5 separate regions of the Homo sapiens genome follow, and all the other regions are linked to region 5. The links are contacts of gene promoters, found by promoter capture Hi-C in blood cells and fetal thymus (Javierre and others, 2016). All regions are on one chromosome and are shown on one strand. Each heading gives the region's core, a stretch centred on a gene start or on the middle of the fragment in contact. The rest is flanking DNA. Distances are from core to core; before and after follow the strand shown.

Evidence for each region. The method cuts DNA at HindIII sites, captures the fragments that hold promoters and counts their contacts. A CHiCAGO score of 5 or more calls a contact.
Region 1: a fragment that was not itself captured here is called in contact with the fragment with the promoter of BCL11B in region 5 in 1 of 17 cell types (endothelial precursors); the score reaches 5.4 in endothelial precursors.
Region 2: a fragment that was not itself captured here is called in contact with the fragment with the promoter of BCL11B in region 5 in 1 of 17 cell types (endothelial precursors); the score reaches 5.7 in endothelial precursors.
Region 3: a fragment that was not itself captured here is called in contact with the fragment with the promoter of BCL11B in region 5 in 1 of 17 cell types (endothelial precursors); the score reaches 7.5 in endothelial precursors.
Region 4: a contact is called between a fragment that was not itself captured here and the fragment with the promoter of BCL11B in region 5, in 1 of 17 cell types (endothelial precursors). The highest score is 10.2, in endothelial precursors.

What each region holds. Positions count from the first base shown.
Region 1 is chr14:96,905,703-96,908,836 of GRCh38, forward strand. No RefSeq gene overlaps it. Among named protein-coding and RNA genes, the nearest start is that of LINC00618, 36 kb to the right of the region's middle. The HindIII fragment of the contact is 629 bases long and covers 1,066-1,694 here.
Region 2 is chr14:96,570,684-96,573,759 of GRCh38, forward strand. No RefSeq gene overlaps it. Among named protein-coding and RNA genes, the nearest start is that of PAPOLA, 70 kb to the left of the region's middle. The HindIII fragment of the contact is 4,574 bases long and covers 1-3,076 here.
Region 3 is chr14:96,759,858-96,763,270 of GRCh38, forward strand. All of the region lies in intron 3 of LINC02299 (long intergenic non-protein coding RNA 2299), which reads left to right. Among named protein-coding and RNA genes, the nearest start is that of LINC02299, 20 kb to the left of the region's middle. RefSeq lists an enhancer at 2,918-2,967. The HindIII fragment of the contact is 1,799 bases long and covers 370-2,168 here.
Region 4 is chr14:96,598,554-96,602,029 of GRCh38, forward strand. No RefSeq gene overlaps it. Among named protein-coding and RNA genes, the nearest start is that of PAPOLA, 98 kb to the left of the region's middle. The HindIII fragment of the contact is 1,597 bases long and covers 564-2,160 here.
Region 5 is chr14:99,270,725-99,273,830 of GRCh38, forward strand. BCL11B (BCL11 transcription factor B) reads right to left here and starts at 1,473. Exons shown (of 4, transcript NM_138576.4): 1 at 437-1,473. The coding sequence starts at 494. RefSeq lists a silencer at 1,320-1,399. The HindIII fragment of the contact is 13,366 bases long and covers 1-3,106 here.

The sequences.
Region 1 (3,134 bases), core at 130-2,629, 2.4 Mb before region 5:
GTGTGGCTGGCACTGAGGGAGTGCCTCAGATCTGTAGAGCTGGTTCCCTTAATGAAATCCACTTCTAGATCCATTGTATAGCTCAACCCTGCCAGAAATACTCCTGTTTAAGTATGATATGTAACAAGTATTATTTGAAAGTCAATTACCAAAAGGACACCACTGCAGAATAAAAAGGAACTAACTGTGGAAAATTAGAAAGCTACTCAGAGCAGTCTTTAGTCTCAATTAGCCACATTTTCCTGTCTTCTAGCAGCTGAACTCAGAGTGTCATTTGAGTAGGAGCTTGGGCCTGGCAGCTCACGGCACTCTGTTGCTTCTGAGGTCCCCAATTATGCAATAATGGTAATCACTGATGGAGGGCTTGGTTGAGAAATGCCTGTTTCCTCATGTCTAGAGCTCAGTAATCATAGGGGAGGAGTATGTCAGCACAGGATTCGTTGATTTCAAATTATTGTTTGAGAAGGAGCTAAGTGAGATCAGGCTTTTACAGACTGGATTGCGGAGGCTGAGGCTTGGGGATGCCACCTTCAGAGGGTGCTACAGGCGGACAGCCCTGACCACTCTCTGAAAGATCTGCTCAAAGCCTGCACTCTGTCCTCCATCCCCAAAAGTTCGAGGGCCATTTGAGACAGAGCAGAAACCTACTTCTGGCATAGCCCACTTGCCACTCAAAATAACTAGTTCTTATCACAGAGGGCTGGGAAGTAAGGATATGGAATGGGACAGGCTGGTTTCCCATTTCTCACACCCAGTAGGGCTTCCAGTCTTTCATCAAATCTGGTCATTAGCAGAGGCCTCCTGAGTTCTCTTTAGATGCCTTTGCCATTTCTGAAATAGCAAGGGCAGTCATAGATTGCAAAAATGGCCACACATTCTTCCCCTCCTATTAAGGGGTGGAGCCTGTTTCTCTACTTCTTGAAGCTGGGTTGGCCATGTGATGTGTTTTGGCCAATGGGACATATTTGCAAAATGATACAAGCAGAAGCTTGAATAGTGCTTGTACACTGGGGTTTGCTTTATCTTTTTGCACTTGGAAACACTGCAGCTGCCACCACATGAACAAGCTTGAATTGATCTGCTGGACGTTGAGAGAGACACATAGCCCAGGTACCCTGTAACCCCAGCTACAGCCAGATAACCATACAACATGCGAGTGAGGTCATTGATTGCCAACTTGAGCAGGAGTGAGCCCAGCCAAGACCAGCAGAAGAACCTCATAGTTGATCAAGATGATCCCAAATTGCCAAACTACAGAGTCATGAGTTAAATAAAAGATTGCTGTTTTAAGTCACTAATTTTGGTGGGCTTGTTATGTAGCAAAAACTGATACATGACTATTATGTTACCATCATGCCAGGTACTGTCCTAAACACCACACGTATGAACTCATTTCATCCTCTCAAAACCTTATGAAGGAGGTACTATTTTCATCCCCATTTTGCAGATGAGGAAGCTGAGATTGAGTGACTTGCACAAGGTTACAAGGCTTGTGTGGGGAACAGGGGCCACACCTGGCAGCCGGGCTATGAAGTCTACACTCCTAACCATTGCACCCACTGCTGCTGTCAGGCAGGTCTGAGAATGTCTCAGCTCTACCCAGACCCTACAGTAGCCACCCCAGTGCCTCAGGAAGCACGCTACACTCCTTGGCATGGGATATAAGGCCTTTCATGATTTCATTTATTCAACAAAGCTTTTACTGAGGTCTACTACATGCAGGCACTGGGGATGTGGCAAAGGAGAAAGCACACAAAAATCCCTGCCCTCATGGATTTTACAGTCTTTGGGGGCAGAAAGAGACAACAAGTAAATAAGCAAAATAATCAGTTTGTTAGGAGGGTGGCTGGAAGGAAGGGCAGATGGACAGTGGCTCGGGGACAGAAGCTCTGTGCCTTGCCTATAGGTCAGACAGAATGGGGGTGTGGCAGAGATGCCTGTGATTGTCTGTCCAGCAAGCCTGCCCCTGTGCTGAGCTCAACCATGCCTGCTCGTCCACACATTTACCTGCAGCCAGTAAGGCCACCTGACTGCCATGTAGCTTCATGGCATGAGATGGGATTTCCCCCTCCCCACTGGTTGGTGCACCGCCTCCCATGTTCTCCCAATATACAGAGCCTCTCTACTTCTTGCAGGCATGGCAGAGCCTCTCTACTTCTTGCAGGTATGGCCCTGGGTTCCAGTTCCTTGGGATTTCTTCTGCCTCCCTTTTCTGGCCTGAACCTTTGATAGGTACATGGAGAAAAAGGCACATCATGGAGAGACCACAAGTTTTGGAGCCTCACACCTGGGCTCAAATCTCAGCTGGTTCTTATAAGCTGTGGGTCCCCAGGCAAGAGAGTTCCCCTTTCTGAACCTTAGTGTCTGCCCTTGTAAAGTGAGGGCAATCTCTCTGCCTTGGCAGTGTCGTGAGGCTAAGCCTATCATGAGGCTAATCCGGTACACAGTAGGTGCTCATAAATGGGAGGTCTCTCTCTCCTGGACTCGATTCCCCATTCCACTCTCTCAGATCCTTGGTTTCCCCATCTCTGCACTACAGATGGTAGGAGTTGTGAGTATTAAATGAGTGTAACATGTGACCTCTCAACTTTTGCAAGACCCCTTTCTTGTTTTTATCATTGTCGTTCTTGTTAATTACTTATGTAGTTACTCCACTTTCTCTCCACTCTCTTCTCCTTTTCTCCTCCCTCCATATAAGCAACTGTTCCAGTAAGTTTTGTGGAAATTACCGTTTTGATTTACATGAACAGTTGTGTGTGTGTGCCCTCTGTCCAGTGCTTCTAGCTGCTACACAGAGCTCCATGGCGTGTCTCTGCTTCATTTTCCCCATTTATGTTAGTCTGTTCTCAGACTGCTATAAAGAAATACCTGAGACTGGGTAATTCATAAATAAAAGGGGTTTAATTGGTTCATGGTTCTACAGGCTGTACAGGAAGCATGGGGGCTGGGGAAGCCTCGAGAAATTTACAATCATGGTGGGAGGTAAAGGGGAAGGAGGCATGTCTTCACATGGCTGGAGCGGGAGGAAGAGGAAGAGCAAGGGGAGGTGCCACACACTTTTAAACAACCAAATCTCAAGAGAACTCTATCACCAGAACAGCACAAAAGGGAGAAAACCGCCCCTGTTTTAGTCC
Region 2 (3,076 bases), core at 327-2,826, 2.7 Mb before region 5:
TGGACACTGTGCCAAGACTGTTAGGGGAACTTTACTGCACTATTAGGCTACTACCTCTCTCTCTGTCGCTTTGGCTTACTTCACATTACCATTTTTTTCCTTAAGTTCTTGAGATGCTCAGGACAAATCTCTGCATATACAACACACACTTTCCAACTGTAAAATAATTATTTTTGAAAATTATTTAAAGCACTCAGTTCATCCTAATTTGGCTTTTATAGTAAAATAGTACAAGTTTTAAAAGTATTACTACAGTTTTCATACAAAGCCTGCCTCAAGAATAAGCATTGGCTTCAATAAGCATTGGTTATGGGATATTAGACATTTTAGCCATACTTATTGTAACTGTATTTTTCATCTATCACTGTTTGTAAACTTAGGCTACTGGCATCCAATTTAGCTGTTCATGTTTTGTGTGGTCTCCTTGATAACCTGTAAGATTTTTTTGGCTCTCTTTAATGCGACTTTAAAGGTACAAATTTTTCCTGTAATTTTTAAGCTGTGTTAGGTTACATGTTTTTCACTTAGGTTTTCTTAAATATGAGACTATTTTAGTAGACTTCTCTTTTGAGGAAACTGATACCATTGTGGCCTTTGTCATGTTGAATGACCCAAACGTGAACACTTTGGTTTCTTAACAATGAAAATTCTCGTAAAGCTAGTTTTCCAAGCATGGTCTTTGTCATCTGCCTAAATTGTTGAATAACTTTTTTTTTTCCTTGAAAATAACCAGTCTTCTTTAAAAATTTACATTTAAAATGTTTAAATTTTAAAGTCTCAAAGTAGAAGGCACCTAATGAGCCTTCTCGTTCATTTTGTCTGTGACGGCCTCTGCTCAACCATTTCCATTGAGAGAGGAGTCTGTATTTCATGTTGCCATCTCTAGGCAGCAGTTGAAGTTTTAGCTTGGCTCAAGGCGATTTTCTTAATCCCCATAGTCTCCTTAGAAGCCAGTTATGACCCATCTCTACTTCATTTAACAGGGGACCTCAAAACATTACTCAGGAGTCACTAGCTGGTTTTCTTATCCAAAGTCAGATGTAGGGATGTGTTTTATAGCTAGAGTATGTTAGCACATCACTCATTCCCTGTTATTTGAGTAGTGGTAGTCTAACACCACTCATTCTCTAGGAACCACACACCTGAAGAGGGGAATAAGGTTAAGCTCGTGTCCTCGGATATATCGTAATCAGGATAAATCCCCCAAGTGAAGTAGTACCTGTGGGTGTAGTGGAGCAACTTGTACATTAGGGCGATACCAGGTTTTCTCAGTAGGCTTTTGCGAGGTTTATGGTGAGCATGAGCTATTGCTAAGCTAGAAATCCACTGATAGGAAGATAAAAGCAGTAATTTGCAATAGATGAAGAAACTATCAAGTGACATCAAAGATCATGTAATTTCTCTCTACTTCTGTCCATCTCGTAAAGTGTGTTCTTGCTATTCTGTATTATTTGTTCTACTGACTCACTTTTGATATGGGAAGAGGTAAGATGGAATGTCTTACAGGACTCTGGTTTAGTGAACTGAACTGTAGCATGTTGAGAGCATGTTTTCTGAGGCCAGATTTGTTCTCAGAGACCTCCAAAGAAGGGTTTCCTCTGCCAGACTTACCAGGGTTGGCTTTTGAAAGGAGAGTTCTAGTCATGGACTCTAAATCATAATCCCTAGAAGATAGACTTGGGATGGGTAGAAGAAAGGTGAGCTGCAAGGACTCCTGGTATTTTCTTAGCTCCCCCTTGGCCTTGTAGCACCTTTTTTTTTTTTTTTTTTTGAGACAGAGTCTTGCTGTGTCGCCCAGGCTGGAGTACAGTGGCACAATCTTGGCTCATTACAGCCTCTGCCTCCTGAGTTCAAGTGATTCTCGTGCTTCAGCCTCCCAAGTAGCAGGGATTACAGGTATGCACCACCACACCTGGCTAATTTTTGTGTTTTTAGTTGAGATAGGGTTTCTCCATGTTGGCCAGGCTGGTCTTGAACTCCTGGCCTCAGGCAGTTTGCCTGCTTCGGCCTCCCAAAGTGTTGGTATTACAGGTGTGAGCCACTGCACCTGGCCCCTTGCGGTACTTTATGAAGAGCTTTGAATTTGGCTGTTAACCAAACAGGCTGTAGGAAAACACGAAAATCTTCATTTTCAGAAAGGTTTGAAGTAGAATTTTCACATGTTAGGAACAGAATTTTTAAAGAAGGGTAGTATAACTGGGATGTGGGGAAACAAGTATTGAACAGTAAGGTGAGGCCAGAAGCCTAGAGAAAATAATTAGTAATATGGCTAGTAAGTGGCTAAACCACATAAATTAGCATGACTCCATTAATTCTGAATTCTTTGGAAATTCTTGTTTGTAATCTTATTTTGATCACCACTCAGGATCATAATATCCAAAGCATTGGAGCTTCCATGAAGGAAGGATTAGAAGTTGAAGCACCTTAGAGGCTCTGACTTGAGTGGTGTTTTACTTGAAACCTGCTATATTGGTTTAACATGGGGGGAGAATACAGGGAGTTTGAGGCATGCCCGGATGTTAGGGCCAATTAGAAGACTGGGGCCTCTTGGAAAATAAGTGGTCTATGTAGGCCTTTTGTTGAGTGGAAGGGAAATGGCATTGGCATTGTGATAAAGATGCATGGAAAATAAGAGGTCTGGGCATTTTGCTGAGTGGAAAGGGGATGGCATTGGCATTGTGGTACGGATGCCTAATTTCTGGTTGTTAAGAATTAAATTCCATAGGATACATCATTTGCTGGGTTTGGCACATGCTAGAAATATTCAGCAAAGTTGCCCATCAGGCAGTTCATCTTGACTGCCATTTTATCATATCAGCTGAATTAAAACATTTAGTACACAACTTTCTGTGTGTAGCGGAAAGAATGCCTGTTTTCAAGGCAGAGCTGCATTCAGGTCTTAGCTTCAGCACTTACTAGCTATTGAGCTCATGCAGTTACAGCATTTTCTTTGAAGCTCGTATTCCTTTTCAGTGGAGATGAGCAATGTCCTTTTAAGGTGATTGTGAGGATAAAAGGTAAGTAAGTGAAGAGCCTCATACTGCAGCTGTTACTACTGTGTCCTGATGCTCTCTGA
Region 3 (3,413 bases), core at 19-2,518, 2.5 Mb before region 5:
TAAACTTAAAATATTGTGTTTGCAAGTCCTATTGGCATGACCGTATTATAATTTATATTGGCCTATTTTGATGTACAGTGGCATAATGAAACTTTAAAAAATATATTTTGCAAAGCTGCATCTAAGCCCAAGCCGGCAGCACAGATTAATGTAAGAACAGCATGGGGATTCTTTGCATATTTTTTTTTTACGGAGATTTCTAGAGAACATTCTACTCACCAAAACTTTAACCTAAGCAAGATTTGCAAAGATTTTCAGAATCCGTCTCTTGTCACATTTCCAGGCACACTGCCTGATGCCTTTCTTCCTGCCTCACTCTTCCCCATCTCATACATCCCCTGTCCTGCCCTCCTATTTGCAATTTTATGAAGCTTTTGTGTGTATACATGTTTGCATTCTGTTTCTATTCCCTCCATCTATAATGCCCTTCTTCCCGTCTCTGCTTGGAGGATATCTCTTAGACATTCTTCAGCTCCTGGCTAACATGCTATCCCTGCTGGGAACCTTCTCTGACACCCCCAGAAGTTATTACTTCCATTCTTCCACAGCAGTTGAAAAGGAACTCTGTTACAGCTCTTGTCATAATGTGTTACTGTTATTTGTTTACATGCACAAACTCTGAAGTCCTTGACAGCCTGACCATGATATATTCAATTCAAAAACCCCAGTGCCTACCACCATGCCTGGTGCATAATACATGCTCTGTAAATGTTTGTGTAATGGTGCTGTGGATGAATGAGTGGGTAGATGGATGGATAAATGGAAAGATGGATGGAAGGATGAGGAGGTAGCGAATGAATGAATGGGTGCAAGGAAGGATGGGTGGGCTGTTGGACAGATAGGTGGATGGATGGATGGCTGGGTGGGTGGATGAATGATGGGTTGGTGGATAGATTGACAGAACAGATCCTCCTGGAGGATAATGCTTTCCCTGACATTGGAAGCATTTAAGCACAGGTTATAGAGAGACTTCAGGACCTAAATGTGTTGTTAGACAAATTAATCTATTAGATGTTTCCAACAAAAAAAGCCCTTGATTCCACCATGTTCCTGTAGAGCTACGCTTCAGCACAGAATTGCAGTAGAGGCTTACTTTACTTTTAAAGCCTGTTTTTTGTTTGTTTGCTTTTTGTTTTTTGGAGACAGGGTCTTCCTCTTCTGCTCAGGCTGGAGTGCAATGGCACAGTCATAGCTCACTGGATCCTTGAACTCCTGGGCTCAAGTGATCCTCCCACTTCAGCCTCCTGAGTAGCTGAGACTACAGGTGTGCAGCAACAAGCCTGGCCAGTTTTATTTTATTTTATTTTTGTAGAGTCGGGGTCTCACTGTGTTGCCTGGGCTGGTCTTTAACTCCTGGCCTCAAGCAATCCTCCTGCCTCAGCCTCCCAAAGCACTGGGATTACAGGCATGAGCCACGGCGCCCAGCGAAGCCTATTTTTCGAAAAGGGTCAGGGAAGGCCTCATTAACAAGATAACATTAAAACAGAGGCCTGGGGGAAGAACAGCCAGGCCTAGGGAACAGCAAGAGCTGAGCCTGCCTGCAATGTCCAGTAACTGCTAGGAGTGTGGCTGGAACAGAGGGAAAGATTTGAGATCTGACACTTTACGGCTTCTTTTGTGCCTTGCTGAGGGAGGTCTTGCTCACTTGGCATTCTAGAGACTGTTCCCCTATCTTTTAGTCATACACTTTTATAGTTTAGAATTTTACTCTTAGCTGTTTGATTTAACTAGAATCTATTATTGTATATGGTGTGAGGTAAAGTTCTAAAATTATTTCTAAATGGAGGGCCAATTATCTCAAGGTTATTTCTCGAATAGTCTGTGCTCTCCACTAATGTAAGATGCCATCTTTACCACCAACAAAATTGTCATTTATCCAACAGTTCTTTTTTGTATTCTCTCTTATTTCATTGATCTATTTGTCTGTTTCTGTGTCTGTTTCTAGTACTTAAGCTACTAGAACATGTAAGATGTTTGACATTTTTATTCTTCTTGGACTCAAACAGATGGACTTGAAAATCACTTTATCAAGTTCTATAAACTTTTTATTGGGAATACATAACATTTAAAAGTGAATTTGAGGAATACTGACATCTTTATAGCAGAGTACACCATCTACAAATAGTATGCTCTTGATTTTTTTAAAGCTGTCTTATATCATTGAGAAAAGCTTATAGTTTTTTTAAAAAATAGAATGTGCACATTTTTTGTAAAGTTTATTTCTACATATTTGTACTGACAAATGTTATTTTTTTTTTGTGAACAGGATTTTTTTCCTATTATATTTTCCAATTGGTCATTGTGTATAGAAAACCTATTATCAGGATAAATAGCTAATGCATGCGAGGCTTAATATTTAGGTGATGAGTTGATAGGTGCAGCAAACCTCTATGGCACAGGTTTACTTATGTAACAAACCTGCGCATCCTGCACATGTATTCCAGAACTTAAAATTTTTAAAAAAAGTAATAAAAAAGAAAACCTATTATATATATTCCAGAAACTTATTGAAATCTCTTATTCTTTCTAGTGCTTCTTCAGTTAGAAAGCAAATGATCATATTGCCTGCACAAAATGGGAACGTAAATTTCTTGCTTTCTTATATTTATTATTTTATCCCTCTTCTCACCTAATTGCTTTGACTAGTACCTCCAGCAAAATGTCGTATAATAAAGATGATAGCAGGTATCCTTTTCTTGTTCCTGACTTTAATAGGGAGGCTTCTAATGATTCATCGTTGGAAATTATGTTTGTGGGGTTTTAGGGCATAGGCTAAATGGTACAAGAAGACTCCAAAATACTATGGCTTAAATAAGATAGAAGCTAACTGATCTCTTACATAAGAGTTCACAGTGATAGTCCCGGGTAGGCAGCACAGGGCTGGTTCTGCTATTCTCCTCAGGTAGCTTCCAAACATGATCAGTCATTGCTGTTTTCCAGCTAGCGGGAGATAGGAGAGGGATGTCGAGCTTCCTCTTTAAAGCAGTAACAAGGCAAATTATAGGTATGCCTTCTATTCACATCCCATTGGCTGAAATTAATCACCTGACCACTCTCAATGGCAAAGGAGCCTGGGAAATGTAGTCTGTAACTTAGTGACCACATACCCACCTAAAGCTATAGTTCTAAACTACAACTAAAGCTAGGGTTTAGGAACCATTACAAAAGGGAGGAAGTGAGAATTGATGATGGGGGGGCTACAGCAATCAATGCCACAATGTTCTTTATCAACATAAGGAAATTTCCTCCTATTTCCAGGTAATAAAAAGTTTTTTTTTAATTTAAATCTGGGATTAGTTATTTTATTTTACCAGATTATTTTTCAACATATTTTGAGATGACCATATGATTTTCTCTTGTGATCTGTTAATAAAGTGAATTTCCTAATGTTGAACCATATTTGCATTTCTGGG
Region 4 (3,476 bases), core at 112-2,611, 2.7 Mb before region 5:
ACAGCCCCTCATGCTAACACAGGCCCAGCTGAGGCATTCTGGTTATGACGGAGCTGTCCAGTTGCCTGGAAAGGGCTGACAGCAGACACAGCCCTGGTCGGGCAGAGCAAGTCCCCGGCCAGCTGGTGAGGGGATGGGCCCGAGCCAGGTAATTATTGCCTGGTGCAGAGGTCGAAAGCCGCAGAGCGGCTGATGTACTAACGAAACACAAATGGGACATCTGTGTTCAGGAGTTCAGCAAACCATGGAAAACCCAGCTTTGCCAAGAGTTTATCTACTACTGAGATCAGGGACACTCCTGCAGCTAAGGGAGCAGTGCGCACACCAGAAGCCGTTTCCCCTGCTGCTCCACTTTCCCCTGCTGCTCCGCACACCCTTTATCTAGGGGCATGGCAACTTTTTCTTCCCTGGGAAATTGTTGGAGCTGGAAGTGTGTTCACCTGTGGAGCGCCCTTTCCTGGTAGTTTGGAAAGCCCTGATGCCAGGCCTTTGGATGCGCTCCTGGGGAGGGATGGTGGTGAGGGTGTGTTTGCCTCCCCACAGGTCTGGATCCGCTTGGTCCAAGCTTACCACTTGGTCTGAGCAGATTGGGGCCTTTGCCTTCCCAAGCAGCACCAACACAGGGCATGTGGACACCTCTGAAGGCAGAGCCAAGAGGGCCCCAGGAAGGGGCCGAGTCCACACGTTTACCAAGCAGATTGTCAGAAAGAGGAGTGAGGGGGTGCCTAGAAACTGGGGTTCTCTCAGACCTGCATGCACGGCCAGCGCAACCTCTACACGTCACATGCCTGCTGGGCCCCAGGTCACACCTGTAAAATGAGAGCGTGGCTGAGGGCCGTGTGTTCATTCGGACTCAAGCAACAGAAACCGACTCTGTCTTATCTGACAAAAACAAAAAAAGAGTCTCCTGGCAGGAAGTGAGGGTGTTTTGTGGACTACAGGAGGCACTGGCCCAGGAAGAATAGGTAGCCGTGGGGACTGGGGCAGCAGGAGGCGGTGGCCGTCTTCTGGGGGCCCAGCCCTTACAGGACTCAACTTCAGTGCCCACTGCCCTGTGTCTTGGTACCACCAGGTGTCAATTCCCAAACTCTGGTGGGCAGACTCTTTGGCCCATCCACTTGGGTGTCTTTCCAGTGCATGGGTGGGGGATACTCAGGACCTGGACTGCACAGGGTGCTACTTCTGGAAGAGGGGGAAATTGCAGAGAGCCAGCCAACCATGACATGAATACTGCAGCATCGTGACGTGCAACTACAAATGGGTGTGCCTATCTCATTGGGGTCCAAAGCCAGGACAGCCAAGGCCCTAGCCTGGCTCTGCACTCCTGAATCTGTGCCTCACTCGCAGCCCCCACTTACCCTGGGGCCATGCTTGAGCTGGGGACCAATGCTTTAGGAAGCACACTGCAACTGCAGTCCACATTTGCCCTCAGGAGGCTGCTGCTTCTATAACCACGATGGCTAACGCATGCTGGGGGCCCAACCCTAGCACCTCCCAGATTGTTTGCTAGGTGCCAATTACGGGACTGGGGTCTTAGCTGACAGTTGCTGTGGCTCATGGCAGTGGCATCAGGACCCACCTACCCCTCCCCCCGCTCTGCCAGCTAATGGTGGCCAAGTAGGGATGGGGGTTGGCTTTCCTGAGGCTGAGGCTGAGTCTGGGCTGTGTGGCCCTCCCCAGGCAGCAGGGCGTGAGAGTCAAGCCATGCTGAAACTGCCCCATGAGCTGAGGCTGTACTTCCAGCAGGGCCTGTGCAAGTGCTGGTCTTAGAGGGGCCAGAGTGTGGTCCACAGTCAGGAACGTGAGGCCAAGAGATGGATCTTGAGAGATCCAACTCTTTGTTGAGAGGTGGATCACAGCAGAAGGAGATCAGGAGTGAGGGGTGGGTTGGTAGGACAGCTGACTCACCCTCCTGGGGCCAGTGACCTCCTTCCTCCACTCCTTTCCCAGTTGGTTGTAATCCCTAGGCTGTGTAGGAGGATTCATGCGATCATCTCAGGCATTTTCCAAGAAAGGAATTTTGCCAGGCCATGCGTTTGACTGGAGGCCTGGGGTCACAGGCAATGAGGCCACCAAAGTCTGCTTCCGCCTGAGGGGTTGGGAACCAGTGGCTCTTGGGTGTGAAGCACCAAGGACAAGACTGTTCATTTTTCCTGATCAAGCTTTTACCAATGGTATTCCTATTTTCTCAGCATCATTAGGAAATGCTAACAAGTAAGAATGCCTTGCAAGTAAATGAGAAAATTCACCTGCAAAGCTATTTCATAAGCAGGTGTGGCAGACATTCTTGTTGCTCACTCCAAATTCACTCCCCCACTTCCCTGCTGGCGGAGTCTGATTTTCTCAGGCTCCACCCTCTTCCACCTGGCTGGGCTTCAGGTAAGTTGTGTTTGGTCTATGGTTCCCATTCCCCCGACATTGAAGCTGGTCTGAGGTTGGCCACCTCAGGGTCTTTTGTGTGTGGTCATGAAAATCCTCAGTGCTTAAATCTCTTTTTTTCTTTTTCCATAGGTTATTGGGGTATAGGTGGTGTTTGGTTACATAAGTCAGTTCTTTAGTGGTGATTTGTGAGATTTTGGTGCACCCATCACCCGAGCAGTATACACTGCACCCTATTTGCAGTCTTTTGTCTCTTACCCCCTTCCACCCTTCCCCCCAAGTCCCCAAAGTCCATTGTATCATTCTTATGCCTTTGCATCCTTATAGCTTAGCTCCCACATATCAGTGAGAATATACAATGTTTGGTTTTCCATTCCTGAGTGACTTCACTTAGAAGAATAGTCTCCAATCTCACCCAGGTCACCGCGAATGCCGTTACTTCATTCCTTTTTATGGCTGAGTAGTATTCCATCATATATATCTATATCACAGTTTCTTTATCCACTCGTTGATTGATGAGCATTTGGGTTGGTTCCACGATTTTGCAATTGTGGATTGTGCTGCTATAAACATGCGTGTGCAAGTATCTTTTTCACATAATGACTTCTTTTCCTCTGGGTAGATACCCAGTAGTGGGATTGCTGGATGAAATGGTAGTTCTACTTTTAGTTCTTTAAGGAATCTCCACACTGTTTTCCATGGTGGCTGTACTAGTTTACATTCTCACCAGCAGTGTAGAAGTGTTTCCTGCTCACCGCATCCATGCCAACATCTACTGTTTTTTGGATTTTATGATTACAGCCATTCTTGCAGGAGTAAGGTGATATCATATTGTGGTTTTGATTTGCATTTCCCTGATCATTAGTGATGTTAAGCATTTTTTCATGTTTCTTGGCCATTTGTATATCTTCTTTTGAGAATTGTCTATTCATGTCCTTAGCCCACTTTTTGATGAGATGTTTAAACCTCTTTGAGTTGGTTTGTCTGTTACTTGCAGCCCAAAGCACTCCAGTTGAACCCATGTATGGAGGGTAACTTTCTGGTTTTGTGGGAGATTCATGCTGTCTGCATGGAATACTGCATGGGTTACAAACAGG
Region 5 (3,106 bases), core at 223-2,722:
CGCCAACTTTTCCCCACTTCCCGGCTCCCCCTCCCCCTCCGCTCCCCCAGCCCCCTCCCCCTCCTCTCCAAACCCCGCCACCAGCGCCGCCGCCGCCACACACGCCGCTCGGAGGGGCGAGCGTCCAGCCGGGCTCGGCGCGCACACACACACACTCCTCCAGCCTGCATGCCCCCTCCCCGGCCCGGAGCCGGCTCCGCAGGCCCCCGAGCCCGAGGCGCGTCCGGCTGCTCGGCGCCCCAACTCCCCGGGCTGCAAAGAAACTTTCCTATGGCCCCCGCCCCCCGCCATGCTCCAGGCCGACGCCGTAGACTCTGCCAGCCAGCGGGCGGCCCCGGCGCCTGGCCAGGCTCGGCTGTTCCGGGCTCGGTGTCCCCAGCCCCAGACGCCCGGAGCCCCATCTCCGGCCCCTCGCGCGCACTCCGCAGACACTTACGGGTGATGAGCTCCCTCTGGGACAAGTGCTGCGGGTTGCCCTGTTTGCGGCGGGACATTGCCCCGGCATCTATTCTGGCATCGCCCGGAGAGCTGCACTGATGGGGGGAGCCGGGGGAGGGGGTCCGAGCCGCCGCCGCGCCGCTGCCGCCGCTGCCGCCGCCGCCGCCGCCGCCGCACCTCCTCCTCTGCCCGGGTTGGTGTTTTTTTTCCCTTCCTCTCTTTCCCTCTCTTCCTCCTCTTCTTCTTCTTTATTTTGCTCTTTCTTCTATGCTGTTTTTTGTTTTGTTTGCAAAAAGAAAAAAAAGGGAAGAAAAGCAAGAAAAACCTCTCGATCTAAAATAAGAAAAAGAGGCAAAAAAAAAAAAAACTGCTGTTGCTTTCCGCGGACTGGCTGGTTTCTTTAAAAATATATTCTTTCGAAGGAAAAAAAATCTCTTACACTTCTTCAAACTGCTTGGCCTCTTGCACTTGCAAATGTCTTCTTGAACTTAAACTGGGTTTTGCACCGGCTCCTGACACTTTCTTTCAGGGTCTGGTAGGTGGAAAGCGCACTTCTACCAGGAGGGGAAAAAAAATGCAAACAAATAAAAAAATAAAAGAAGAAAAAGCAAAGGAAAAAAAAAAGCAAAGAAAACTTGGGGACTTGTCTCGTACCCCCTCACCCCGCCCCCTCAAAAAACCCAAAGCAATGTAAAACTGCCCCGGTTCGGTTGTTTCTGGGTTTTCTGCGGGCTGCCTGTTTTTGTTTTTGTTTTTGTTTTTTCTCGGAGACTGACCCTTCCGAGGCTCTGGGGGGACACCAGGAGAGGCTCCTTCCCAGTTCACCTGGCAGGCTGGCGCCGGCCGGAGGGGCTGCCGAGTCCCCGCGAGCGCTCCCCAGCGCTCCCCTGGCGCCGCGGGCCCGGGGGGAGCGGGGCGGAGGGGCGGCTCGCCCAGTGCGCCTGGGTCGGTGCGGGCGCAGACTGGGAGCTATAGATTGCAACGTGAAGATGGCGGAGTCCGGGTTCTCTGGGAGCTCTCGGTCTCTCTATGGCTGGGGCTGCCTCTGTACAATGGGATAAAATTCAAGTTCAAGTGCGGACGTGACGTTTAATCTGCACTAGAGACAAAAAGACCCAGAGAGTCGGAGCACTGGGGGCGACTAGCGGTGGCTTTTTAACATTGTACCCTGTAAGAGAACAAGAAAGCACACACAGAGACACACTCGCGCGCGCGCGCACACTCACACACACACACACACAGTCGCCAGTTGCGCACACCCGCAGCCCAAGCCGGACACACGTGCAAACCGCGTTTTTGTGCGCTCATCTCCCCCGAGCCCCGGCTGCGCAACAGCGGGAGGGGGTTGGGGGGGGCCACTGGGCAGCTTATTTTAAAATAAAAGAAAAATCGTCCTTATATCTCCTCCATCCTGGGAGCAGGACCCCCTGAGAAGGGGGGCGGGGTGCTGTGTGAGTGAACTAAATTGAATCAATGCAAGTCTCCACCCACCCAAAAGCTCTTTCGGACTTGGACTTTGGGGGTGGGGGCGTGGACTGTGGAAAAGGGTTGGGGTCGACATGGGAGTTGGGGGGACAGTAAGAATCGCTTCGTTTCCCTGGAAAAGTCGCTTGGTAGTTTTTACTTTTGTTTTATGGTCGCGGGCGGCGAGGGGAGGGGAGTAGATGTTGGAGTTCAACTTCCAAAAAGTGTCTCCATATAAATCCTGGTATTACAGACTCTGGGAGGGTGAGGATGACAAAATAAACGACACTAAGACAACAGAATCAAGAGCACGTGAGGGGGTGAGAAGTGTTTGAGACCTTGTTTGAGTCCCACTTGGAAAAGGATTTTCACTCAAATCTTTGTCCCCTCCCCTCACCTTACCCCGATTAACTCCTGGGGTCAAACACGACCCCACCTCCTAAACTGGGTCTATGGCAAGCGAGAGGGTAAAGGGACCGGGGCGCTCCACGTGGGAGAGGGACTTGGACTTGCCAGCCCAGGAGTAGGTGTGGCCAAATCTCCGCAGATACTCGGGTGGGTGACTCCAGGAGGCGCCCCTGACAATCACAGCAACCTGGAAGTCACACCCCGCCCCCCGCGCTCCTCGGCCCAGGGTAGGACTTGGAAATGCCTGTCAGACTGGGAAGGACGCAGCTGCCTTGTCAGCCGTTTGATCTCCAACCGGCGAGGACAAGAGGAGTTGTGGGGCCTCTCCGTGGCCCGGGGACAAGGCCAGACCACGGCCCCCGTGGACACCCCCCATTCCCCAGGCTGTGGCCAACTTTGTCAATTTGATGACCTGGCCTCCAGGGCTGGGCGCGCCACGCGGCTGGCCTCCTCTCCCTTCTCAGGGTTTCTCTGGAGGCGGCCAGGGCGGGTCGGGGCCTGGCTCCGGCTAGGCTTCGCGGGCGAGTCCAGCTGCACCCACCCCACTCCGCCCCCAGGCCTGGCTCCGGCGGCTTCACCCGGGCGCATGGCGAGGCCGTGACGCCTCAGCGCCGCCTCCCTCGGGGCCTTTTCCTCGGGGGGCACACGGGGGTTTTTGTTTTCGTCCCGAAGGTCTTGGGTGGGGCGATGGCACCAACAATTTAACAGCGCCCAGAGTCCGTGAGCGAGAACAGAAAGAGATCCCTTCCAGTCCCATACCCTAAAAAATAATAACAATAAAATGTGCCCTGGCTTG